6 separate regions of the Homo sapiens genome follow, and regions 1, 2, 3, 4 and 5 are each linked to region 6. Evidence: promoter capture Hi-C in 16 types of primary human blood cells and fetal thymus (Javierre and others, 2016). All regions are on one chromosome and are shown on one strand. Each heading gives the region's core, a stretch centred on a gene start or on the middle of the fragment in contact. The rest is flanking DNA. Distances are from core to core; before and after follow the strand shown.

What was found. The method cuts DNA at HindIII sites, captures the fragments that hold promoters and counts their contacts. A CHiCAGO score of 5 or more calls a contact.
Region 1: a contact is called between a fragment that was not itself captured here and the fragment with the promoter of CHN1 in region 6, in 1 of 17 cell types (total CD8 T cells). The highest score is 5.0, in total CD8 T cells.
Region 2: a contact is called between a fragment that was not itself captured here and the fragment with the promoter of CHN1 in region 6, in 1 of 17 cell types (naive CD4 T cells). The highest score is 5.3, in naive CD4 T cells.
Region 3: a fragment that was not itself captured here is called in contact with the fragment with the promoter of CHN1 in region 6 in 1 of 17 cell types (naive CD8 T cells); the score reaches 5.2 in naive CD8 T cells.
Region 4: a fragment that was not itself captured here is called in contact with the fragment with the promoter of CHN1 in region 6 in 2 of 17 cell types (naive CD8 T cells and M0 macrophages); the score reaches 5.3 in naive CD8 T cells.
Region 5: a contact is called between a fragment that was not itself captured here and the fragment with the promoter of CHN1 in region 6, in 4 of 17 cell types (naive CD4 T cells, total CD8 T cells, total CD4 T cells and 1 more). The highest score is 7.1, in naive CD4 T cells.

The regions. Positions count from the first base shown.
Region 1 is chr2:174,539,906-174,544,279 of GRCh38, reverse strand. The region is part of intron 1 of LOC124906097 (a long non-coding RNA gene); the gene reads left to right. The region is part of intron 1 of LOC124906096 (a long non-coding RNA gene); the gene reads right to left. Among named protein-coding and RNA genes, the nearest start is that of WIPF1-AS1, 33 kb to the left of the region's middle. The HindIII fragment of the contact is 167 bases long and covers 1,195-1,361 here.
Region 2 is chr2:174,578,043-174,582,096 of GRCh38, reverse strand. WIPF1 (WAS/WASL interacting protein family member 1) reads left to right here. Exons shown (of 8, transcript NM_001375834.1): 3 at 658-787. All of the region lies in intron 1 of WIPF1-AS1 (WIPF1 and CHRNA1 antisense RNA 1), which reads right to left. Among named protein-coding and RNA genes, the nearest start is that of WIPF1-AS1, 4.8 kb to the right of the region's middle. RefSeq lists a silencer at 3,913-4,022. The HindIII fragment of the contact is 2,156 bases long and covers 571-2,726 here.
Region 3 is chr2:174,663,255-174,667,201 of GRCh38, reverse strand. It overlaps a transcript of WIPF1 not described here. Among named protein-coding and RNA genes, the nearest start is that of WIPF1, 67 kb to the right of the region's middle. The HindIII fragment of the contact is 2,373 bases long and covers 116-2,488 here.
Region 4 is chr2:174,686,388-174,690,624 of GRCh38, reverse strand. No RefSeq gene overlaps it. Among named protein-coding and RNA genes, the nearest start is that of CHRNA1, 76 kb to the left of the region's middle. The HindIII fragment of the contact is 2,995 bases long and covers 1,166-4,160 here.
Region 5 is chr2:174,626,274-174,630,338 of GRCh38, reverse strand. It overlaps a transcript of WIPF1 not described here. Among named protein-coding and RNA genes, the nearest start is that of WIPF1, 31 kb to the right of the region's middle. The HindIII fragment of the contact is 4,377 bases long and covers 1-4,065 here.
Region 6 is chr2:175,002,461-175,006,749 of GRCh38, reverse strand. It overlaps CHN1 (chimerin 1), which reads left to right and starts at 1,369. Exons shown (of 13, transcript NM_001822.7): 1 at 1,369-1,856. The coding sequence starts at 1,838. RefSeq lists a silencer at 1,609-1,668 and an enhancer at 1,653-2,199. The HindIII fragment of the contact is 4,598 bases long and covers 1-4,289 here.

The DNA of each region.
Region 1 (4,374 bases), core at 29-2,528, 460 kb after region 6:
GGGCTTCCTGGAACCGGTTGCTGTCACCACCTTGTCTGCAAGGAGAAAGGTGCAATCTACTCACCAGTAAAACAATGATGTTTTGCTTCCATACAACACAATGTGGGAATGCAAAATATAAGAAGCAGGAGCAAGAACAGGGCAGATCATCAGCTATCCTCTGCTTTCTCAAGCTCTATGGCTCCCTCTTAAATAGATTTTGAACATCATACTTTTTTTCTTTTTCTTTCTTTTTTTTTTTTTTTTGAGACAGGGTCTCGCTCTGTTGTCCAAGCTAGAGTGCAGTGGCACCATCACAGCACACTGCAGCCTTGACCTCCCAGACTCAGGCAATCCTCCCACTTCAGCCTCCCAAGTCCCTAGGACTACAGGTGCACGCCACCACACTCGGTGAATTTTTGTATTTGTTGTAGAGATAGGGTCTTGCTATGTTGCCCAGGCTGGTCTTGACCTCCTAGACTCAAGCCATCCTCCAGCCTCGGCCTCCCAAAGTGCTAGGATTACAGGTGTAAGCCACTGCACCCAGCCCATACTTTTTTTCTTAAATCTTCATCTCTCTGCTTGCTAATCTTGTACATTCAATTTGAAACAGGGGAGCTGTTTTGTTGCAAAGGAGGAGATTCAGAAACTCCAATTCTCCTCCTTACTTTAATAAGAATGTTATGTCTAGCATATCGTAATAGGAGAAAAGTCTTCCTTTATTGCCAACACTCAAAGTCAATTCTCAGTTATGTGCTTTGAGAATAATCCTTGGAAAATATTCTAATTCCACCTCCTCTCACCAACATAGAAGTTTCTAAGCCTCCATCTCCACTTTTAAGTTGCTGTGTGCTTTTTCAACTTATATCCTACCAAAAGCTGAGTTTATTTAATATATGACATCATAATACGTTACTTTTGATGATTCAATGCTTTGTGCAATCTCAATCATAGTTTTAGCTCTATTAGGGTCATCAAGGAAGAGTTCAGTTTTATGGAAAACTCAAGGTCAGTTTCCATTGGCTTCTTCTCTCCATCAAAGCTTTAAATATATAGTAAACAGAAACATAGAATAGATTTATTTGTATTTAATCACTGTGTCTGCTTGGTTGTTTGCAGCTGCAAGTAATCAACTAAAGTAGATTAAATTCATAATCCCCTAGAATAAGAAGTGTGGAGGTAGGGCATTTGCAGGTTGGCTCTGCTTGCTAAGCTTGTACATTCAGTCTGAAACTCGGGAACTGTTTTGTTGCAAGAGAGAAAATTCACAAATTCCAATTCTCCTATTTAATAATTCAGTGACTCAGTGTCTTACTGAGGACCTAGACTCTTTCCACATTTCAACCCATCATCCTGGGCACATCGGTTTTAATCCTAAAGCTTGCCTCTATGGTCAGAAGAGGGCCACTGCAGCTCTAATAACTTCCTAATACATCACCTGAAGGCCAAAGGACAAGAGTGTCCTCATTATGATGAGGAGAAAGAGCTCCCCAGAAAACACCCAGGCTTCAAATAGTGAGTGGCTGATCAGCCCCTATAGTGGGAGGAGGCCCTACCAGCACTTAAAACAGGACACAGCCAAAAATAGCTGCTGTAAGTGGGAACTTAGAAAACTCTATGTACATACACTGAAGGTTAATGAGCATTCTGTTTATTTCCCATGGAGACTGTATCTGTGAAATGAATTTAGAACCAAGTAACCATTTTCTTTTTCTTTACTTTTTTTTTTTTTTTGAGATGGAGTTTCACTCTTGTTGCCTAGGCTGGAGTGCAGTGGCGCAATCTCAGCTCACTGCAACCTCCACCTCCCAGGTTCAAGTGATTCTCCTGCTTTAGCCTCCAGAGTAGCTGGGATTACAGGCATGCGCCACCACACCTGGCTACTTTTTGTATTTTTAGTTGAGACAGGGTTTCACCATACTGACCAGGCTGGTCTCAAACTCCTGACCTCTGGTGATCCACCCGCCTTGGCCTCCCAAAGTGCTGGGATTACAGGCATGAGCCACCACACCCGGCCTCAAGTAAATCATTTTCTAATCAGTTGAAACAGTACAAAGGAGAGAGTTGGTGTGAGGAGGGGGTCTGAAGGGGTGTGTAACTTGATGGTTGGGTTGAGGGGTGATCAAAAATGAAGAAAGAAAATATTCTAGACAGTGATAATTAATTGCTGCTAACATCACAAAAAAAGAGATAAGCAAAATGCCTTCCTACAGAAGTATACAATGCCACCTATAAAGTGTTCTTGCCAAAAACACAAATCAAATCCGATTAAACCTCTAGATCTAACACCCAACCTACAGGAAGTACAGGGAAGAAAGCAACTTATTAAACACAACCATGGGGTTGTAGTCAGCAAAATCCAGAACAAATGACCTGGCTTAGTGAATAACAGAAAAGGAGGCTGGGTGCGGTGGCTCATGCCTATAATCCCAGCACTTTGGGAGGCTGAGGTGGGCAGATCACGAGGTCAGGAGTTCGAGACCAGCCTGACCAACATGGTGAAACCCTGTCTCTACTAAAAATACAAACATCAGCCAGGCATGGTGGCACGCGCCTGTAATCACAGCTACTCAGGAGAGTGAGGCAGGTTAATCGCTTGAACCCGGGAGGCGGAGGTTGCAGTGAGCTGAGACTGTGCCACTGCATTCCAGCCTGGGCGACAGAGCAAGACTCTGTCTCAAAAAAAAAGGAGAGGGAGCATCTTAGATTAAAATGTACTTAAGAGAAGGAGCATTTATAGATTAAAATGATTAATGTTTGGACCCTGTTTGGATCCTGATTCAAACACAGTAATTGTAAAATGACACCTATAAAATGATTGAGGAAATTTAAACCTGACTGGATATTTGATGATATTAAGGACTTATTGTCAATATTTTTAGAAAGGATAAAGGTATTGTGGTTATGTCTTCTAAAAGAGTTAGTATTTTTTAGAGGCACATGCTGACATATTTATAGCAGAAATATGACATCTGAGATTTACCTCAAATGTCTCCAAAAAGTCCAGTAGAAGTAAGGAAGTGAGGGTAGGAAATGCCTGGCTGTGAATAATAGTTGGGAAGCTGGGTGATGTGTACCTGGGCGTTCCTTATACAATTCTGTTTTTATTTTGAAATAACAATTTTTATACATTTGGTTTTTTTGTTTTTGTTTTGTTTTAGAGAAAGGGTCTCACTCTGTCACCCAGGTCAGAGTGCAGTGACGCAATCATGGATCACTGCAGCCGCGAATTCCTGGGCTTGTGTGATCCTCCTGCCTCAGCCTTCTGAGTAGCTGGGACTACAGGAACATGCCACAATACTTGGCTAATTTCTAAAGTTTTTGTAGAGACAGGGTCTCACTGTGTTACCAAGGCTGGTCTCGAACTCCTGGACTCAAACAATCCTCCTGCCTTGGCCTCCCAAAGTATATTTCATTTTTTTACACAAGAGATGAGAAAAGAATAAAAATAAGAAAAGAGGGAAAGTCAGGTAAACAATCCTGTGTGACTCAGTCACCAGTTTGGGCCAATGGACTTCAGTTTGGGATTTCATGGCCCAGGGCAGAAACTGACAGTGATGTGCACCTCAGGCTCCTGGGAACAGTCCATCTGCTTCCTCCAGGTCACCCAGTCAAGGATGTCTCAAGGGAGTACTTACAGCAGCAGGCTGGAAGTGAGAACTTCTGATATCACCATCATTATTATAAGAAAATGCAGAAAAGTCTTCCTGACTATCCTATGCTAAGTACCCCCAAGTAAACTTAACCCCATTGAAATAAGTGTTATAGGTTATAGAATGTTAATTCTATCCAATGAGGTCCTAAGCATAACTTTTTTTTTTTTTTTTTTTTTTTTTTGGTGAGACGGAGATTTACTCTTGTTGCCCAGGCTGGAGTGCAATGGTACGATCTCAGCTCACAGCATCCTCCGCCTCCCAGGTTCAAGTGATTCTCCTGCCTCAGCCTCCCAAGTAGCTGGGATTACAGGCATGTGCCACTGCGCCCGGCTAATTTTGTATTTTTAGTAGAGGTGGGGTTTCACCGTGTTGCCCAGGCTGATCTCCAACTCCTGACCTCAGGTGATCCGCCTGCCTCTGCCTCCCAAAGTCCTGGGATTACAAGTGTGAGCCACTGCGCCTGGCCTAAGCATAACTTTTTAGACAAAAATAAAAAAATCTAGTAATATTTTACTACTTGGTGCTGTTAAAGTTGGTGTCTGAAGCCCTGCAATCATTTATTCACTTTCAGTACATCCTTTGTTCCTTTTGAAAAGGTGTAAGTCAGTGCACTTAGAATCAGGAAACTTAATTTTTAGATTTTGTTTGCCTGCTATAAATGACAGCAAACTCAAAAACCAAACCTCTTAACAGTAGTGAGCCAGTTTTGTTTCAACATGACTTCAGTATCCCAGCCCTA
Region 2 (4,054 bases), core at 399-2,898, 420 kb after region 6:
ATTCTATATCTTGATTGTGACGGTGGTTTCACAACTGTATATGTTTGTCAAAACTCATAGAGCTGTAACTAAAAAGGGTGATTTCACTATGTGTAAATTACACCTTAATAAATCTGACTTAAAAAGAGAAAAAAAGCATCTTTGGCAATATACACAGAGGGAATTATTTTCTAGAACTTTAGTGGGTTTAAAAAACATACAGCTGACTCTTTTTGCTAGAGACAGTTTTTCCCTTGCACTGGGGTAGTTCTAAAAGATGGGAAAAGGAAGTTATTCTTCAGGGTACCCTCTAGTGAATGACGTCTGGTAATGTCCTGCAGAATCCTCCCAGACTTAAAATTCTTTTCTCGTGTCTAGTCATCTCACCCTAACCTGGCCCTGTTAGTTTCAGTCAGATTGTGGTCTGAATTTTCAGAGACTTTAATCAAGGACTGACTCTTCCTCCCTTAAAAATGAACATAATTTATTGCTGCATCTGCTTCCAAACGTCTGGATCTTAAAAAGAAAGATATGGGGTCTAAAACTTGTCGAGAATTTACAACCTATCACCAAGAACCTTAACAACAAGCTTCCCGTACCCAACCTTTCCCAGCCGAGTGTTACAATGCATGATTTTAACCCAAGAGATGACTACTTGTTTGTATGGCTCCCTTTCAGGCCAATACAGAGAAGCCTACCTTGAATAAGACAGAGCAGGCTGGGAGAAATGCTCTCCTTTCTGATATCAGCAAAGGGAAGAAACTAAAGAAGACGGTCACCAATGACAGAAGTGCACCAATACTGGACAGTAAGTAAAAAAAGGCTATCTACCATGGAGAGGAACAGTTTATGGCCTAATAATCAACCCTACCCTCACCACTCAATTTTTATTTTATTTTATTTTTTGGTTAACAACAGCTGCAAAGCTAGCAAAATAAGGGACTGTATCACTCCCTGTAGGCCGCAGCTTTGGCTTGGGTTCCCCTCTAATGCTGCAAGAAGCCAGTATAATAATTCTTTGTCCAAGACATACACAGCAGCAATTCTCTGCATTATTCACAACACTTTCTGGAGATTAACCCATTGCTCCTGGCACCACAGATGAGGAGGCAGCATAAAATATGGAAAGAGCCCTAGCCTTGGAATCAAAAGCTGTGGGTTCAAGACCTGGCACATCCATCCTGTACCATCTCCAAGCCTTGTTTTCTTCATTTTAAAATGGAGATGATAATACATGTTCTATTGACCTCACAAGTTTGTCATGAGCTTCAAATGAGATAATGCCTGTAAAATGTTTTGTTGTCTGGAAAGTGTAATTCAAGTGTAAGATACAATTATTAGGAGCTTAGAGAGAAAGAAAATGAGGTCACAACTTCAGTTATCAACCCACCTAAGTCTGAGGTACTTTCTGGAACAAAGCTACTTATTAACATTTACAACAGGACAAAAAATAATCCATGACTAGAATTCTACTGGCAATTAATAAGTAGATCTTAAGCCTGTCTCCTCACATTCCTAGACCCTTCCTTTGCCTGCCAGATGTCCCCAAGATTCATCCTAGACTACAGATCCCATTTGGACGGAACAGGAAATAGACTGACCTTCCAAAATCACCAGATGGATCTTTGTCAACAAGTGAATAATGAGGCAGAATCTTTGCAAAGTAAAGGATTAGAAGTGCTTCAGGGAACTTTCTGGGAGAAATACCTAATGAGTAGAGAAGGAAGAAGAAGGATCAGAGTTAGGTGGACTACTGGTTTGGGAGGAAAAAGGAAAAGTGAAAGACCTAGATAAGGCCTTTGAATGTTGTTCTGTTACCGGGCAAAGTGCTGCGAGTGAGAATGCACTGCTTTCAAAAAGGAACTATGGCCGGGCGCAGTGGCTCGCACCTGTAATTCCAGCACTTTTAGAGGCTGAGGCGGGTGGATCACTTGAGGCCAGGAGTTCAAGACCAGCCTTGACAACATTGTAAAACCCCATCTCTACTAAAAATACAAAAATTAGCCAGGTGTGGTGGCACATGCCTGTAGTCCCAGCTACTCGGGAGGCTGAGGCACAAGAATCACTTGAACCAAGGAGGTGGAAGTTACGGTGAGCTGAGATTGTGCCACTGCACTCCAGCCTGGGCAACAGAGCAAGACTCTGTCTCAAAAAAAAAAAAGGAACTAAGGTATTTAACTCTTGACACAGTCTGACTTGTAAGTCAAAATGCCCACAAAACGAATGTGGTTATAATATATTCCCTCTAATCCCTCAGCCCTCCAAGCCCTCCAATAGCCATCTGAATCATGGTCCCTGGTATGAGGCCAGAGGAGCTGACCTCTAGGACAGAGGCCTGTGGTTCTCCTCACTGCAAGAGGGAGCCTAGGGCTCTGTTGAAGGAGGCTGGACAGTCTAGACCTATTCCTGAATCCACTAGTGGAAACCTTGAAGAATTGTATTCTTCAATGTCCACTTCTCTTATTTAATGGAAATAGTGTTAGTCCTTCTCTCTTCCATGATGTTTAATAATGTGCTTTCCTTGATGGAAGGAAGATACAGTCCAGTGCAGGCCCTTGTCCACACACTCAACTGGACACCTATACTGCTGTCACAAGCTCTTTGCAAGCAGCAGTGTTTATCCACAGTTTTGTATCTGTTTGCATGTGAAACTTCCCTGGGCTGTATGTCAAAATGTTGACCATGGTTATGTGTGATAACTCAGCCCTGTCCTACAGTTTAATTACTGAAAAAATAATCTGAAAGCTTAATCCTCAGCTTTAGCTTCTCTTTCTGAAAGATGGACAGATGTTGCAGGTTAAGAACACTAATGGGCCAGGCACAGTGGCTCACACCTGTAATCCCAGCACTTTGGGAGGCTGAGGCAAGTCGATCACCTGAGGCTGGGATCACCTGAGGCATGGAGAAACCCCATCTCTATTAAAAATACAAAATTAGCCGGGTGTGGTGGCGCATGCCTGTAATCCCAGCTATTTGGAAGGCTGAGGCAGGAGAATCGCTTGAACCCAGGAGGCAGAGGTTGCAGTGAGCCAAGATCGTGCCATTGTACTCCAGCCTGGGCAACAAGCGTGAAACTCCATCTCAAAAAAACAAAAAAAAGAACAGTAATGGGTGATGTCTGATAGTGCAGGAGTCCCTCTAAAGTTTCAGTACCATGTAAACGTGTCCTGTGAAGTGCAGTATTCCAAAATGTGTCATTCATCAATGAATAGTGTTTGAATGACAAGGGCGATGTTAATAGCAAAATTTTTAAATTTTATATGGAAACAATTTTGCATACACTTCTAGAAATTGTTAGTCTTATATGATTTATCCTGTTAGGTGAAGTAATTCTTGTCAGTTATTATCAGATTATTTCTTCCACAGCAGAGCTACCATAAGCATCTCAGAAAGCTCCACATCTAGAAAAGATACAGAACTAACACAAATTTATGATAAACCTAATCCAGAAAATGGAAATAAAAATGAATAAAAGTGGAACTCAGAAAGCAGATAAAATAAGAGATTCAAAGCATATTTTCTAAAATTAAAGTAGTGTAATAAAGTTATCTGCTAAAATGTTTTAAGATATTAAAGAAAGTACTTTTCTAAGAAAAGCATATATTTATTCAGGAAACCTCAATGAGCAAGGGAAAAGATAAAAACTTTATTAAATTACTTTCTCTCCAAAAAGTTTTGGAGCCAGATTATTTTATTAGCAAATTCTTTCAAATTTTAAGAAACAGCTAATTCAAATGCTGTATAAGTCATTCCCCAATATATTAAGAGATGGAAGGCTGTCTAATAATTGTAATGAAATTGGCATGATCCTAATGTCAAAACTTGACAAAGGCAGCACATAAAAAAAGAAAGCTGTACATTAGTGGTTTTCAACTGAGGGTGATTTTTGCATTCCAGGGGATATGTGGCAATGTCTGAAGACATTTTTAGTCACTACTTTGGGGGACAGGGAGGGCTGCTACTGACATCTAGTGGGTAGAGGCCAGGGATGCTGTAAACATTCTGTAAAGAACAGGACAGGACAGCCACCCACAAAAAAGAATTATCTGTCCCAAAATGTTTATAATTAAGAAAC
Region 3 (3,947 bases), core at 53-2,552, 340 kb after region 6:
CTTTATTCCTTCCCTCCCTTCGGGCCTCGCTCACTGTCAGCCCCAGTGGTGAGCTCTGTGCTGGCAGTTTATCTGGTCTTCTTTTCAAGTCCAGAGAAGGACAAAATAAAAAGCTTAGAGGAGCAGAAGCTAAAACAAAACCAACTGCATTCTTAAACCCGATCTGATACAGCAAGGTTTTCAGGGAGTGCAGCTGCTCCAAGCCCATGGGGCCCTTCCAGCCTCAAATCCATGGGACATTGTTCTTAGTCAGAGGGCAAAGGGATCTCTTTGTGTTTTTCTGATGTGAGCCTGGACCCTTCTAGAATTAAACAAGAAACTAGAGGCAGAGCTAGGATTCAAATTGAGAAGTTTCTGATTCCCATGTCTGTGGTCTCCCTGCCTTGTCCTTGATTAAAATGGCAGTTTTAGAGGCACATCCCACCACCGAGCATTCTGTGTCAGCATCAGCCAGCTTCCTGCAAAGCCAGGCCCCTGGGCATGTGCAGGCTATTGCCTTAAACCTGGATGATGCAGAAAGTGGCTTCCAGCTCTCCTTCTTAGTGGTCAAGGAATGTGGAGGGGCCTGTGGCAGGTAGGCCAGGCACTGAGCTGGGTGCAGAATGGGCTTTACCTTCTAAACTTACTGTCCCAGCTCCAATGTAAACTAATGAACTCTCATGAAACCAGTAATGGCTTGCTTGCTTGAGGAACTAGAGGGCAGGGTGTGCCATAACTGACCCTGGTTGCATAAGACAGTCCAGTGAGTTCCTCCTTTTTTACCCCCTGAGGTACATCAAAAGGACCCAAGACAGAAAAACTGTAGGAATAAACTCAGTCCTAATTTGGAGGCCATAGGCAAGGAACCTTACATTGTATAGATTCCTGGGGCTGGCAAAATAGACAGTGGTGGATACCTTCAACTCTTGCCAGAGTTAAATTTTTGTTTGTTTGTTTTGAGATGAGATCTCACTGTGTCACCCAGGCTGGAGTGCAGTGGCACAATCATGGCTCACTTGCAGCCAAGGAATCCTCCTGCCTCAGCTTCCCAAGTAGCTGGTACTACAGGCACATGCCACCATGCCTGGCTAAGTTTTTCAGTTTTGTAGAGATGAGGTCTCACTGTGTTGCCCAGGCTGGTCTCATACTCCTGGGCTCAAGTGATCCTCTTGCCTCAGCCTCCCAAAGTGCTAGGATTACAGGCATGAGCCACTGCACCTGGCCCAAAATATTTTTAAGAGAGAAAATTTAAGAGGCTACAAGTGGTATGGGTTAGAGTTTAAACAACAGCAAAAGAAGCATGCTCAGAGTAGAGCCCCATTCCTCCACTTGAATGACAGACATGAAGTGGGACGGTGTCTGCATGCAGTATCTACAAATGAGCCTCTCTGAGCAGAGTCCATTGTAGAAAGACACATTGTCTAAACCAGGGTTCTGAAACCTTTTTTGGTTATGACCTACAGTAAGAAATACATTTTTCATTGAGACCCAGTGTATACAGGATAGATAAACAGAAACAAAAACAAAAGTTTTATAAAACAATTTCCATGTTTACCAAATGCAACACATTTCCTTTTCTATTAAGAAGAAAAAGCCGGTTGCAACCCACTAAAGTGATTTGATGGCCAAAGAATAGGTAGCAATTTGCATTTTGAAAAATACTTATTTAAATAGAAATTTGTCAGACATGTAGAAACCAGTCACATTGTAGCTCTGGCAGATTTCTGCAGGAGATCCAGTGACACATTTCATGGTCCTAGAAATGGTTTTCCTTACTCTTTGAATCTTTCACGGTTGATGAGGTGGTGTTGGTGATGAAGGCCAAGGAAGAGAGTGGAGAAGATGGTGATGGAGGAGTTAGGAGGCCAAGTCTTAATTCTGCTCAGGCAGAAAACAGTTGAGTGTCTGTGATGCATTGTCCAGACACGAATGAGACACAGACCCTGGTCTATGGCGGCTTATAGTCGAGGTGTTTGCTTCGTAGTAAAACAGGAGCAAAAAACCAGAATGATGCAGGTAACCTGAGGCCCCTTCATTCTGAGTTCTCTGAAAGGAGAAACCATATTATAGGGATGTATGCAGCGTTATACCCTCGGTCTGCCTCTCCTCTGTCTCCTCTGTAATAAGTATTCAATAAATCTGTATTGAAAGACAGTGTTACCTGAGAATACTTGTACTTGCAACTAGACTGGTAATCAATTTCTATAGTGGTATTGTTAATATAATATTATTAATGTTAATAAAACATTAACATAATATGGGATATGATGGTTTAGATAAGAAAGATCCAGGCCTGGCGCGGTGGCTCATACCTGTAATTCCAGCACTTTTGGAGGCCGAGGCGAAAGGATCACTTGAGCCCAGGAGTTTGAGACCAGCCTGGGCAACATAGCAAGACCTTGTCTCTATTTAAAAATTAAAAATGAGAAAAAGGAAGACCCAGAAGAGTTCAGGTTATGTAGCAGAACTGCAGACCCCATCTGGGTTTCAGGTCCTCCTAGAGCAAGCTTTTAAAGGTTGAGGTTTGTCTGGTTTGACTTGTAAGTGGGCCCTGGGACAGCTTGCCCTGGCTCTTGGCCTAGAGACAAGAAGTCAAAGTGGTGTGGGCCGAGCCCGACACTGGCCACCACGGAACACAAGAGAGGGCATTCTTGGTTTTCCCCTACTGCTCATTTGAAACTGCACTGAGTTTTCCCACTTGGGTCAGCAGTTCAAGATGGTGTGATTCAGGCTTAAATCACCCCAAGTTTCTGTGTGGTAGGTTTCTGTAGAGATGAGGGTGCTTGCAGACCACTCTCTGTTGGATCCTAAATGGAGTCTTTGTTTCAAGTCCTGGACTAACCCAGCACTAAGGGGGCATTGAGGCTGAGGAGTGGTCTTGGGGCCCTGGAGACCCTGGCACAGGTCCCAGTGCAGAGAGTGAACGAGCTCCTCCGCACTCCCTGCGCTGGCTTTCTCAAAAGCAAGCTCTGTTCTGGTTGTCCTGCCCCAAGGCCTGGCGCTTCAGACCCAGACCAGTCATACTGCTACACTAAATTAGATTGAAGCCCTTCATTCAAGCACTTGGGGTGTGTGTGTGTGTGTGAGAGAGAGGGACAGAGGGACAGAGAGGAGAGAAGGGTGTGCTGGCTGGTGAGGGAGGCAGGGATTTGCAGGGAGGAGAGGGAAAGACAGTACCTGACTTAGGGATAGAGCCAGAGAGCCCCAGGTTCTACTGCCAGCTCTGTCGCTGTATGTGTGACCTTGGGCCTCAGTTTCCTTATCCATAAATTGGGAAGGTTAGTGCTGCTTCCTCTGATCTCCTTTGGCTCCAACGCTCTATGGCTCTCAGGCCTGAGCAATGTTTTCTGGCAGGAAAGAGAGGCTGCCCAGAGCTTCCTTCTCAGGCAGCCAGTGCGCACATTCTTTCCTGTGCCCGCATATGGAAGCAATTTCTAGATTATCCAAGGCACTAGTGCTGCTGAGCTCACCCGAAACAGAAGAGCTTGGTGGTGGTAAATGGAAAAAGATAAAAAACCTGCATGCGTGTTCCTCTGTTTTCCTCCCACAGTGACTTTCATATCTGGAATCCCTCGTGCAATTTGCTTTCCCATGCTATGGCAGGGGCGTGCCAGTGGGTTTGGGGAACTTCACAGAAAAATCCTGATAAACACAAAGTGAACTGCTTCTCTCCTGAGGCCAAAGGCCACTTTGCCTTTTTCCCCAGGAAACTTCAGGCCTGAGGAAACTTGCAGGGGGCGGCGGGGTGGGGGGAAGGGGAATGCGTGGAGGGGACCATAATGTTCCCACATTTATTGTAATCTTTCTCTCTGGTCTGTTAAAATGAAGACTATTAATGGCTGGCTGAAACATCAGCCAAGAGCTTTGAAGGGGAAAATGTTTTATTGGTTCCTTCTCTGCCAAGTGAAACCTTTACCTGTGTTTCTCCTCTGCACCCCTTGGAGGTTTGGGTCGCAGTTATCTGGTAA
Region 4 (4,237 bases), core at 1,414-3,913, 320 kb after region 6:
TCTTCACACAGCATAAAAAAGCTAATTGATAAATATCAATTAGCACAGTAAAGTAAATGCAACCTTTCCTGACCTCTCCCATGTCTTCCCCTCCAGCAGGGTTAAAGCATGAAAGCAACTGTTCAAAAACACTCCAATTTGCACAGGGAGTCCCTGTGAATGTAGCCATCAGGAGGGAAAGGCCCGCCTTGAGCCAACTGGGTTCACCCATTTCTTGGCTATTGTATTGTCTCCACTTCTCCTCGGGCCCTCCAGCTGCACTGCGTTCTCTCCTGAAGTAAGGCTCCTGGATCCTTGTTATGGGTGGAGAACAACCTCTGGAAAACCTTGTGCCTTTGGCAGCCCCTCAGGTCTTCAGCGGACACCTTCATTCATACCTGACCAGTGAGCAATGACAGGCATCAGAAGACAGGAGCAAAGCAGACACCTTTCATGTCATTAAGTCCATTCTCCAGATAAAATAAAACCTGCAGCCCACATGGGCTTCCTGACACATCTACCCTGGATCTGCCAGTTATGAGTTTAAACCCCTGTACCTTTCTCACTGGTCCAAAGGTAAGGAGGACCCAGAATCAATGATTGGATCAAACAGCTCTGGAGGTATGCTTCCTGTCACCACCCCTCCCTGCCCACAATCCTGGAAACTCAGGATTAACTGCCTTTCAGTCCCTCTTTTATATGAAGGAACCATGGTATCCTGTTCCCAGGAAAGTCCCATTAGGGAGGAGCTGTGCCTGCCCAAGCCAGATGTTTTCCATTCACCCCTCCAGGCCACTGTCACCATTCTCCACCTGTTCCAGGCCAGGGAGGCTGATCTGCATGGACAGCGTTGTGGGTTTCCTGTCCTCTGGCTCCTGAGTGAGCTCACATGATGGGCGAGCTGGCAGGAGAGGAATAAAGTCAGGGTATTTACCCCTTTTTCCCTCATTCCACTGGGTCACCATGGCTTGTCATCATTCTTGCCTTATCTAGGGCTGCAATTCCTAGAGCTGAAGCCACCCTCCCCAAGTTCTGGTTCACATCCCCTCCTCTTCAGGCCCAGGGTGGTAATGGCCCCCTGCCGTTCTAGCTCTGCAGCGTGGCACCATCCCTTGTTCCTTTCCCTACACTCCTTTGTAAACAATTTCTTTACTAAGCCTTCCTATAGCACCTCATTTGAGAAGCTTTCTGTTTCCTGATGGAGACTGCCTGCCAAACAATCCAAACAGTAGCTTTAGTTAGCCACTTTTTGGTTCCTAATGTGATGCTAACAGGAACATGGGTGAGAGTACTGGACAATGATGATGATAGTCATGGTAGCAACAAAAACAATGAACTTTTCTTGAGTGTTTATTAAAGTCAGACACTATTTGTATTAGTTGACATGCATTAACTTACTTTCGGCCCACGACCCCTTAGTGAAGAGCAAGGAAGGAAGCCTCTAAGATGACCTCAATCACCAGGGCGAGCTGATATTCATATTTATGTGCCACACTCTTACCTTAAGTGTGGGTTGTATTTAGAGACTTGCTTCTAATGAGTAGAATACAGCACAGTGATGTGATGTCACTTTCAAGTTAGGTTACAAAAAGACTGTGGCTTCCATCTCACGTGTCCCCTCTTGCTCAGTCACTCTGAGGGAAAACAGTTGCCATGTTGTGAGCTGCCCCAGGGAGACATCCACATGGCAAGGAACTGCTCTCTCCAGCCAACAGCCAGTGAAGACCTGAATGTTGAAACAGCCATGCAAGTGAACTGGAAAGTAGCTCATCCTCCAGTCAAGCCTTGAGACTTGGCTGGCACCTTGACTGCAGCCTTGTGAGAGATCCTGAACCAAAAACACCCAGCTTAGTTACCAGATTCCTAACCCACAGACACTAGGAGACAATAAGTGTGTAAGTCACAAGTTTTAGAGTAGTTTGTTACACAGCAACACAAAATGAATACAAAGGGGGGTGCCATTATTATTGTCCTCATTACAGATACAGAAACTAAGGCTTAGATACCTGCCCTAGGTCACACTGGAAATCAAAAAGGCAAGATTGGTAGCCAGACAACCTCACTGAGCACTGATGCTCTTAACCATTGCGCATGAAACAGTCTATGAGGGAATTTCTTTATAAGAATTAGCTACTTCCGTTTTTGTATATTGTCATTGGAAGTACAGGCTGCTACCAACATTTTGGAGAGCAATTTAGTAGTATCTATCAAAAAGTGCAAACACTTCCATCTTGCAATTCTGACTACCTAATGGAAGTTACTTCTGTGAGTCAGGATACTAAGAAGAATGTAGATGCATGAGCATTTAAGAGCACGAGTGTTTATTATGAATTTTTAAAAGACATATAACTGGAAGTAACATAAATGTCCACTAAGAGGCGCTTTGGTTGAATTATGACACATTATACAGTAAAAGACTATGCAGTTCTTAAAAAAGAATGAGGTTGATTTATATTTAGAGAAATGGAAAGACAACCCTTGTTACCTGTGGTAGGCAGAATTCTAAGATTTTCATCCCCTGGTGTATGCACACTTTCTCTCACTTGTTCAGTCAAACACTGATCTAGATGCTGCCGTGAAGGGATTTTGTAGATGTGATTGGAGCTGCATTTAAGATAGGGAGATTATCTTCAATGGGCCTAGCATAATCAGCTGAGACCTTAAAAGGAACTAGGCTCTTCCAGGCAAAAGAGACTAGAAGTATGAGAGGGATTCCACATGAGGGAGATTCTCTGTTGCTGGCTATGAAGACGAAAGCCATGTTGCAAGGAATGCAGGTGGCTTCTAGGAGCTGAGAGCAGTCCCACAGGTGACAGCCAACAAGGTAACAGGGTCCTCAGTCCCACTACCATAAGGAATTGAATTCACAGGGGCCAGTGACCTGAATGAGCTTGGAAGTGGATTATTTTCTCCAGCACCTCCACATAAGAACTCAGCCCACCTGTGATACCTGTGAACTGAATCACACCATGTCCTGACTTCTACAGAGCCATGAAATAATAAATGGATGTTGTCTTGAGCTGCTAAATTTATGGTAATTTGTTACACAGCAACAGGAAATGAATGCAATAGATTATTTAGCGGAAAAAGAAAAATAAATTAGAAGAAGATGATGTACAATATAATCACATTCACCTGGCTTTCATTAAATATTTGTTGATGAAGAAAAATAAAAATACATAGAAAAAAAGACACAGGGAAGAATATATACCCTACCATTAGTGGTTATCTCTGGTGAATGGGATTGCAGGAGACTCACTTTCTATATTTTATGCTTATGGAATATTTGAATTGTTTAGAATGAGAACTATTTTTAGTAAGGGAAGAAAATGATAAAGTGAAAATATTTACTAAATTTGCTATCTCAGACTAAAGTTTAAATTTTATCTTGTTCAACTCTTACTGTCTTAAGTCTTTTTTTGGAATACGGTGTAGTGTAAATAAGTAAAATATCTAGCTCTCAAGAGCTCAGTCCTTTCAGTTTTGGATATATCTATTAAATATATGCTGAGCATTTTTTAGGTGCAAAGCAGCTTCCTTCCTTCCTTCCTTCCCAACACATCCTGATTCTTCACAGTATCCCTGGCCTAGCATGGTGCTGTCGTCCCACATAGCATTCCATTTCCTCCCTGCATTGATGCAGAAGAGAAAACCCAGGCTGTTAAACAGCCTTTAGCCAGATCTACCTGAACCTCAACAATTCCTTCCAACAATAGAAACAATATTTTTTTATTTTGCTATTTGGCACCAAGGAATCTGGATGCCAGTCAATTCAGGTCATTCACACCAGCAGAAGCTCAAAAGAGGGAACAATAATAGGAAGTAAAGCCAAGAGACAGTATTAAATAGTGGTTAAAACAAGGGTGTTAGCATCAAAATAATCTGGATTTAGAAGGTCACAAGCTGAGTGGTCTTGGGCAGGTTACCTAAGCTCTCTGAGTCACAGTTTTCTCATTTGTAAAATGAAGACAAATATCTAAATCACAAAGTTACTGTAAGAATTCAATGAGGTACTCTGTAAAAGCATCTCACTTATTCATCAAGTGGTAATGAATAGTGAGAATGTGCTGGAGCTGAGAAGACTGCGGTGAGCCAGGCAGGCAGGTCCCTTTGCCTACTCTCTCCCTCTAGACTGGGGCTACTATCTACTGGGGAACAAGTAATTACAATAAAAAAAAGCTTGTTATAAGAGGGGAAGTTCTAAGGCACCACTAAGCTAATTTAGAGGTCAAAGTAAGTCCCAAAATGGTAGTTATGA
Region 5 (4,065 bases), core at 773-3,272, 380 kb after region 6:
AATGAGAAGCTACTGCTTTGAGACTGTCTAACTAGCTAGACACTTACCAGACTTTGTTTTGATATTTTCTGGTATGAATTAGGCTTCCTTTCTAGTTGCGTTCATGCCCAGATTTTAATATGACATATTTTAAGTTAACTCATTGTATTGTTTTGTAACCTAGAGTGGCTTAAAAACAGAGTCATTTGTTATAGTAGGATATGTGTTCGCACACACAAATATACGTGTGTGTATGTGTGTGTGTATAATGGGAGGAATTCTCTAGAGCATATGTTTCCTAAATTAGAAGTCACTAAGTGATATCTTGGAGCCTACAATTATTTGGAATACTGCTATCTTCAGACTAGGAAGTTATGCATGTATTATACATAGAGATTCATTTGGGGGGTTTGCTAGTAAACTGTAATTCTTTCAGTAAGTCACTGCTTTACTGAATGGTGAAGATTTGGAATGTCTTCTTTGATTTCCAGGCCAACAATGGATAGATTTGGTCGTCCTTGAAGCATTTAGAGACCTGTAGAATGAACTTAACTTCTGAAAACTGGGTGCGGGGCCAATAGAGGGGCTGCTCAATACCTCACCAGCCTGCTACGCGGAAGGCTAGATGGAGGGCTGCTAAAGGAAGAGAACTGCTGTTCCACCTCCGCCTCCTCCCTGCAGTGTGGCTTCTTAGGCAAGTCCCAGTTTAGAAGTCATCTAACTAAGTGAACATTCTTGAACTGCCACCAGACCTCTCCTAAAACTTTTTTCTAAGCAAACAATATATGCTTTCAGACTTTCTCTTCTTCCCTCTTCTTTTCCCCTTCTCTCCACTCCCTACTTTCGCCTCTGCCATTTCATGCCCATCACCTTGTGAAAGCTCAGGGCAGAATTTACCTACATGGACAGCATGCTTCCTTCCCTGGCCCTGTCTCTGAGCTTTTTATTCCTCTTCCCCAGAGCATTTAATAGCCTTCCCTGCAAAACAGAGGAAAGTCAAGGCTGATGAGCATAGTTATCAGAATAAAACTGTTTAAGAGGTTTTATGTAAGAAAAATAATTTGGAAAATAACAATGTTTTTTATAAGATCCTGATGAATCAGGAAGGATAAATAGTTTACTTTTTTTTGATAGAGAGAGACTCACTATGTTGCCGAACTCCATCTGGAGTGCAGTTGCTATTCACAGGTACAGTCATGGCACACTGCAGTCTCGAACCCCTAGGCTCAAGCAATTCTCCTGCCTCAGCCTCTCTATGTTTTAAAGACTTCCTTTAAGGGTCCATAAGGAGGTAGCTGTAAGGGAAGGGGAACTAAAAAGGCCAGAGGATAATTTTCTCTAAAAGGCAAAAATGTTAGGTTATTCAAAAACTATTTTTTTCCTCTACTTCAGTGCCAGGAACATCTGGCCTCAGGAAAAGTTTAGGAAAGATGCTGTTGTCATCATTTAAATCTTAAAGAGGTAGGAAAAAAATAATCTTGGATTTTTTACAACTAGAAGGGACCTTAGAGAGTTATATCCTTTTATTTTTAGATTTGGAAACTAAGGCCCAGAGAGATTAGGTGATTTGTCTATGGTCAAAGTAGCTCATTAATGATGGTAGAGGGTGCAGAACAAGGCCCCTGGCTACACACTGGTGACATAAGGGGGAAATGTTGAAGGGCCCCAAGGACTTGGGAATCTGAAAGTAGGTGCACCTCTGGGATCTACAGAGGCCAGATCTGTGCCTAATGGGAGTAGAGTAACAGATTGAAGATTTGAGGAACTTCCAGAACTCCAGCAAAGTGAGCTCTACGTAATTCCTGGAAGACAGCACAGCCATATGGTTGGAATTTTGTGGGTAGAAAGCTAATCCATCCTACCTGGAGAAAGGTTGTGGGCAATGAACTGGTCCTCATGGAGCAGAGAGGAAAAATTTCCAATGGTTGCCCAGTATTGGCCTGGAAAATAGGTCCTGAATCTTGTGGACATGAGTGTGGATTGGTAAGTATGGATGAAGATCTTTTGTGAAGTGTCTGTTGTGATGCATTATCAGGGCTCACCACGGCATGGATTAAGCAGTCCTCAGAAGGGTTAGCCATCCTTAGCACTGATTCCAACACCCCTGAACCACATTCTGAATGCTAAGTCAACTTCCTGGGTACCATTAGCTCAGAAAGGTATATTCTGGACAATGGACATGGTCACTGGAAAGAAATGGCATTTTTTTGTAGATTCCGGGGTGCCCAGCAGCCTCTTGTGAATTTTTACTCAGACATTCTGAGTCTGATCCCTCTGGCTCCCAGATAAAAGGGAGATGTGGGGACCTCTATGATAACGCTCTGTGCTTGATGTAGTGTTCTACCCCTCCCCAAGAATGCCACTCTTAGGGGTCTTTTCAGGGTAAACAGCAGCCTCTCCTAAGTGTCAGGCTTACTTTGTTGTTGCTCCTCTTCAAAATGCCACAAACATTATTAAAATTAAAAAATGAGATGTAATACATGGGTCCTGCTATTAGAAATCACAAGGCCTGGCCAGGTGTGATGTCTCATGCATGTAATCCCAGGACTCTAGGAGGCCGAGATGGCCTTGAGGATTGCTTGAGCCAGGAGTTCGAGACCAGCCTGGGCAACGTAGGAAGACCCCATCTCTACAAAAAATTAAAAATTAGCCAGGTTTGGTGGCATTCACCTGTGGTTCCAGCTAATCAGGAGGCTGAGGCAGGGGGATCACTTGAGCCCAGCAGGTCAAGGTCAAGGCTGCAGTGAGCCATGATCACACCACTGCACTCCAGCCTGGGTAACAGAGGAAGACTGTCTCAAAAAAAAAAAAGAAAGAGAAAGAAAGAGAGAAGGAGGGAGGGAAGGAAGGAAGGAAGGGAGGAAGGAAGGGAGGGAAAAAGAGAGAAAGAAAGAGAAAGGAAGAAAGAAAGGAAAGAAAGAGAAAGGAAAGAAAGAAGGAAAGAAGAAAAGAAAAAGAAAAGAAAATCATAAGACCTTTTTTTGGACACTGGATGTTTTCAAAGTTTTTTCTCTTTGTTTTTCTTGTTTGGCATTTTCCCTTAATTCAGATTTATTTATTAAGTATCTTCCATGTGGATCTTATATTCAAGTTAAAAGATGTGGACAAAAAACAATAAATCTAAAAAATACTAGGTGATGTATATTAGGAATTTAGAAGGGATACATGCTGTGGAGAAAGAAGTCTAGCGGGGCTAGGAGGAGCAGAGCACAGTGGTGGAGGATGGGTGTAGGTGAGCTGGTAAGGGCAGCTGTCATGGAGAAAATGGTGAGATAATTCACCATGTAGCCACATGGGGAAAGCCTGAGGACGCAGAAGCGGAACATGCCTGGAGTATTCAAGGAGTAACATGGAGCCAGTAATTTGGAGGTGAGATCCTGGAGGGCCATGTTGGTCATGGTAGGACTCTGGCTTTCCCCCCAGAGTCTGGGAGTGAGGGGAGGATTTTGATCCAAAAAGAGACAATGATCTGACTTTAAATTTAACAGCTCCCTTTGGCCACTGTATTGAGAATAGACTGTGGGAGCACAAGAGTGGAAGAGAAGGACCAGTTAGGAGGCTATTGAAATACTCCAGTGAGACATGCTGGTGCCATGGACAAGGGTTAGCAGTAAAGATGTTGAGGAGTAATTAGAGTCTGGTTATTTTGAAGGTAGAACCAGCAAGATTGGCAGTTGGATTGAAAAATAATAAGCAAAAGAGAGGAGTTAAGGAAAATAGGAAGTGGCCTAAGTGTAGTAAGAATAGAAATGCCATCAGACTGAGATGGGGCGGGCTGTGAGTACAGCAATTTGGGGTGGAGGGGAGATACTAAGACTTTTGTTTGGGATATAGTGAGTTTGAAATGTCTATGAGACAGACAGCCAAGTGGAGATGTCAAGTGGGCAGTTGGATATGTGTGTCTGAATATAGGAGTTAGAATCCTAGAAAAAAGTCATCTTTCTTAATGGTCTTGGTTTAATATCACTCCTAAATTCATCTGTAGCTTCTAAAACTTCCATTAAAAACATGGAATGTGACTCTGCATAGTGATGTGTTCACTGGTTTGATTTCTGGGACTGAAATCAGAGAGAGAATGTTCTTTTG
Region 6 (4,289 bases), core at 120-2,619:
TCTGGGGATTTTAAAGATGTATTTTGATTAGTGGCTAAAGAGAGCCATTTTACATCACAAAATTCCAAACATATAGCATCTTAAACACTTGCCCATTCATGTTGAATCATTTTAATATTTCTTTCTTCCTGAGTTAACTGACTTGAAACAAAAGGCTTGGCTCCTCCTTCCAACCTGCTTTTCTTCTGATGCTTAAGTCTGCTTTGAAATAATGATGGTGAATTAACTGTGGTTCCATTGGAAGTACTGTAGTAATCTCCCACTTTATCAGGATTCGATCTCTAAGATACATTAAATACAAGATATTTCTATAATATTCTTAAAGAATTATTTGAAAATGGGAGAGAAGACACTAGGGAACCTGAGGAACTAAGAGGAAAGACGCCTGTAGAAAGAAAGGAGAACCAAAGAGAAGATCTACATGATCAGATACCAAAATAGTATCAAATCCCTAAGCAGAGAAACAAGAAAAAAGAAGGAATTTCTTAAACAGGGAACACATATAGCAACTAGAGAAGAATGACTTTTTGAATACATTAAACGACAACGACGAAAAACATATAACCCAGCTTTTCAAGAACATCTTTTGGCTGACAATCTCAAGGCGTTGTATGGCTCCTCATGGCAGAGACAGAGGTGAGGAGACAACATCACAGAAAGGAGGACGTTGCCAGTGATTATCAGATAAATACAAGAAGCTCAGGGGAACAATCTTTTGTGGCAAATAAGTGCCAGTCAGTGACACATGCTGATTTTTTTTTCCTTGAGACAATATCAAAGAGGTATAATGTAAAGGGAAGAAAATCAGGTGTAAGCATTGGTCTTTTAACAAATTATCTTAGGTAATCTCAGATGCTTTTTAAGCGACTCCTTTTCCTAATGTGTGTCAATTTCATCAGAACTACTAGCAGCTCCTAAGTCCAAACGGAGAGGAATGCAGCTTTCAGTGCCTCTGTTCCTACCAGAGCCCTGCAGCTTCAGGTCACCGGCTCCAGCCACAGTGAGCCTGGAGGGCGCCAGGAGAAGAAATATGTTCTCACACGCACCAGGTCCCCAGATGACCCTGCCTGGGCGCTGCGTTCACTCAGCATCCTCCTGTGACTCTTCCTCTTTCGAGTAACAGCGTTTTTCTCCTCTCTGCGCCTCCTCAAATTCCATTCAAGAAAAAACCTGGGCTTTCAGCTAAAACGCACACCGGCCCCGCTCCATCCCGCTCCGGGCGGCCGCCTCCAGGGGGGCGCTGGTGGCTCCTCGCAGCCGCGGGAATGAGGGCGCACCCTCTTACCCCCGCGCGCGCCCGTTGCCATGGGAACGCACTCGACCGGGAAGCCCGAGGGAGAGGCGGGAGGCAGCGGCGCGGCCGAGCTCGTGGGAGACGCTATCGCAAGATGGCGTCTGCGAGGCCGCGGGATGCGGAGTGAGCGCGCCCCGCCGGGGGCTGTGCGAGGCTGCTGCTGCTCTCCCCGTCGCCGCCGCCGCCGCCGCCAGTGCGGCGCCGCCTCTCCGCCAGCCACTGCGCCGCGGCCAAGCCTCCTGCCTCGCAGGTACCTCCTCCCGCGCGCACGCTCCGCGCCTGATGGCAGCGACAAGTGCCGGCTCGCGGAGAGCTAGCGGGGCTCCCTGGGCCCGGTGCGCCCGACAATAACGCGTGAATAACTTTTTCTTGCAGCGGTCCCCCGCGTCCCGGCCTGCAGCCTCCCCGGGCGCCGGCGCCCCCAGCACGCCCCATCGGGCACCCCACTCTCTCCGAGGTGTGGGTGCGGCGGGCTGATGAGGTGATCCCTAGCCCGCCTGGGAGGAGCGCCTGGACTCGCGGGCGGCGGCGAGCGCCTTTACAATGGCCCTGACCCTGTTTGGTAAGTGCAGCCGTCTCCCCGCGCCGCCGCAGGTGGGCCGCGTCCCGGGGCTCGGGGGCGGGGGCCTGGGGGGCCTGGGCGCCCGGGGAGGGGGCGCGGCGCGTGGGGTCGGGGCGGGCCGGGGCCGCAGAGTTGGGGCGCCCGGGGCGCCGGCTTGCTCCCTCGCGCCTCTCCCATTGTTTCCTCTCCCGGCAGGGCCGATGGGCGTGTGCTCCCCTGGCCAATTCTCGGCTGGGAGGCTCAGAGGTCCTGGGTGTTTTGCAAACGCACAAAGATTCTCTAAGATGCCAACTTGGGAGTGAAGTTAACTGGTTGTTTTCAAACCTGCCTTTCCCGTCGGTAAATAAATCCTTGGAAAGTTTATTTATTTTGAACGAGGTATCTGTGAGTCCCCAGCCTCCTTGGAATTGCCAAATGCATGTGTTGCTTCCTGTTGGACTATTGGGGAATTTTTTTTTTGGACTCAGTATATTCCGTTGGAAATAAGTATGATTTGTGAACTGAATATGGGTTAAAATTGAAAATGTTTGCACTAACGAATGAGAGCAGACAGAATAAAGTTGGTTACCAGAAGATAACTGTAATCTCAGGAGACTGAGTATTCATTAAGAATGAAATGTTATTTTTGTGGTGTAATTACTGCAGCACTGTTGCTTTTGGTGGTTAAGACTTCAAGCTGTTTTTTTCTCAGTCTGCAATGACAATGGGTTGGGAAAAAGGACTGAAAAGATACATTCTTTCCTTTTACAAAACGACTATGGTACATACGTACCTGACTTTAAGAAAACTCAATATGTGAACATTAGACGTTCAAAGTATTCAGCTTTTTTGAAGAAGCAAAGTACAATGATATGTAATTGATAGCTACGAGAACAGCCTAAGTAAGTTATTCACAATATCAAGTTTCCAGTTCAGTTTTAATTATGTCATTTGATCAAACACGTTAGAGGTGTTACATACCTCAAATGCTTTTTGAGGTAAATACTTCCCAGTGAATTAAGCTGCTAGAATCAAAGTGTTACTTTTATTTAACTATCTTATTTTATAAATTAAACTTAGACCCAGAGAGGTTGTTTCCCAAAGTCACATGGCTCTTTTGTGGCAAAACTGAGCCTAGAATTCACTTCACCAGGCTTCAGTCTGGGACTGTGTTTACTGTGCCCAAGTGCATTACTAGAAGTGCCATTTCTTACTTGGTGATGATCCTCCATAGGTACTTTAAAAAAGTGTCTTCTTTTTCTGAAAAATAATAAAATTCTCGCTGTTTCTCAGTACCTTGTATCTAAGCATTATTTAATAGCAGCATTTTCCTTAAATGTGGACCTTTTTGGTACAAACATTTTCTTTCCTAAAGAGATATTTGGCATTTTCAAGGTGTGGTTTCAGAAGTAAGGTTTACAAGTCAACTTTTCAAATACTCGCATTCCTGACGAATAAAAAAGATAAATTGGGGTGAAAAATGCTCTTTTAAAAGGATTTCTAAATTCTAAATCTTTAACCACTGTGGTGAAGATGAGGAAGGGAAAAGCATGGAATGTGGCCTATAGAAGAAAGTATAAGAAATCACTCCCAGCCTTCAAAATGAATAATGTATCTTTAAAATTTTAAAGTCTACTTATGGGAAAATAGAATTCACTTCCCAAAATCCAGTTTGTTACAGTGTGAACGTTTCTGTGTTATAAAACAAAGCACTCTTGAGTGCAGAGGCTATTTGTTAAGTAGTGATAGAGCAGCAGCTGTTTTTAAAAGTGGTTGTACACCACTCATCAGTCATCTGGGATGTCTATTAAAAATGTAGATTCTTTTGCCCAAAGACATGGGGGAAGGGGATTTTAAAGTGACTCCCTTTGTGATTCTTATGCTCACTCAAGTTTGAGAACTGTTGTATTCAAGATAAATGCTAGGAGATTGGGTCAAACTCGCCCAATACAAAATAGCTTTTTGTGTATGTTGAGAGATGTACCTAAGGGTTAGAAGAAATGGATTTTATTTTAGATTTTACTACCTTTAACTAGTTGGTCTTAGTCAGAAGTGCCTCATGTCCCTTCATATTTACTCTTAATGACCAACTTAGAACAGAAGAGCAATGGAGCAATAAAGTTCTGTGAGATGGTAGTGAAAAGAGTTAGAGGCAGGGACCTAACCAGATCAACAGGATTTGTCAGAGCTCAGCAGAGTTTATACCTGAGGCTCCCCAGAGTAACGACTGCCAGGGCCCTATCTTTTGTATCTTGGTTGATTAGTTAGTGCAGTCCAGCAGTAGAGTCTAGACTAGTTATTTGCTTTGTGTTTTACATTTTCTTTCCATTCAGGCTTTTTATAAATTTAAGAAATGTTCTTTTTATAGGGAGTTGGTGACTTAGTTTTAAAAAGTGGAGCCTCTAACATTACCTGATTTTGTATTTGCATACATTTAATTTTTTTCACCTGTTA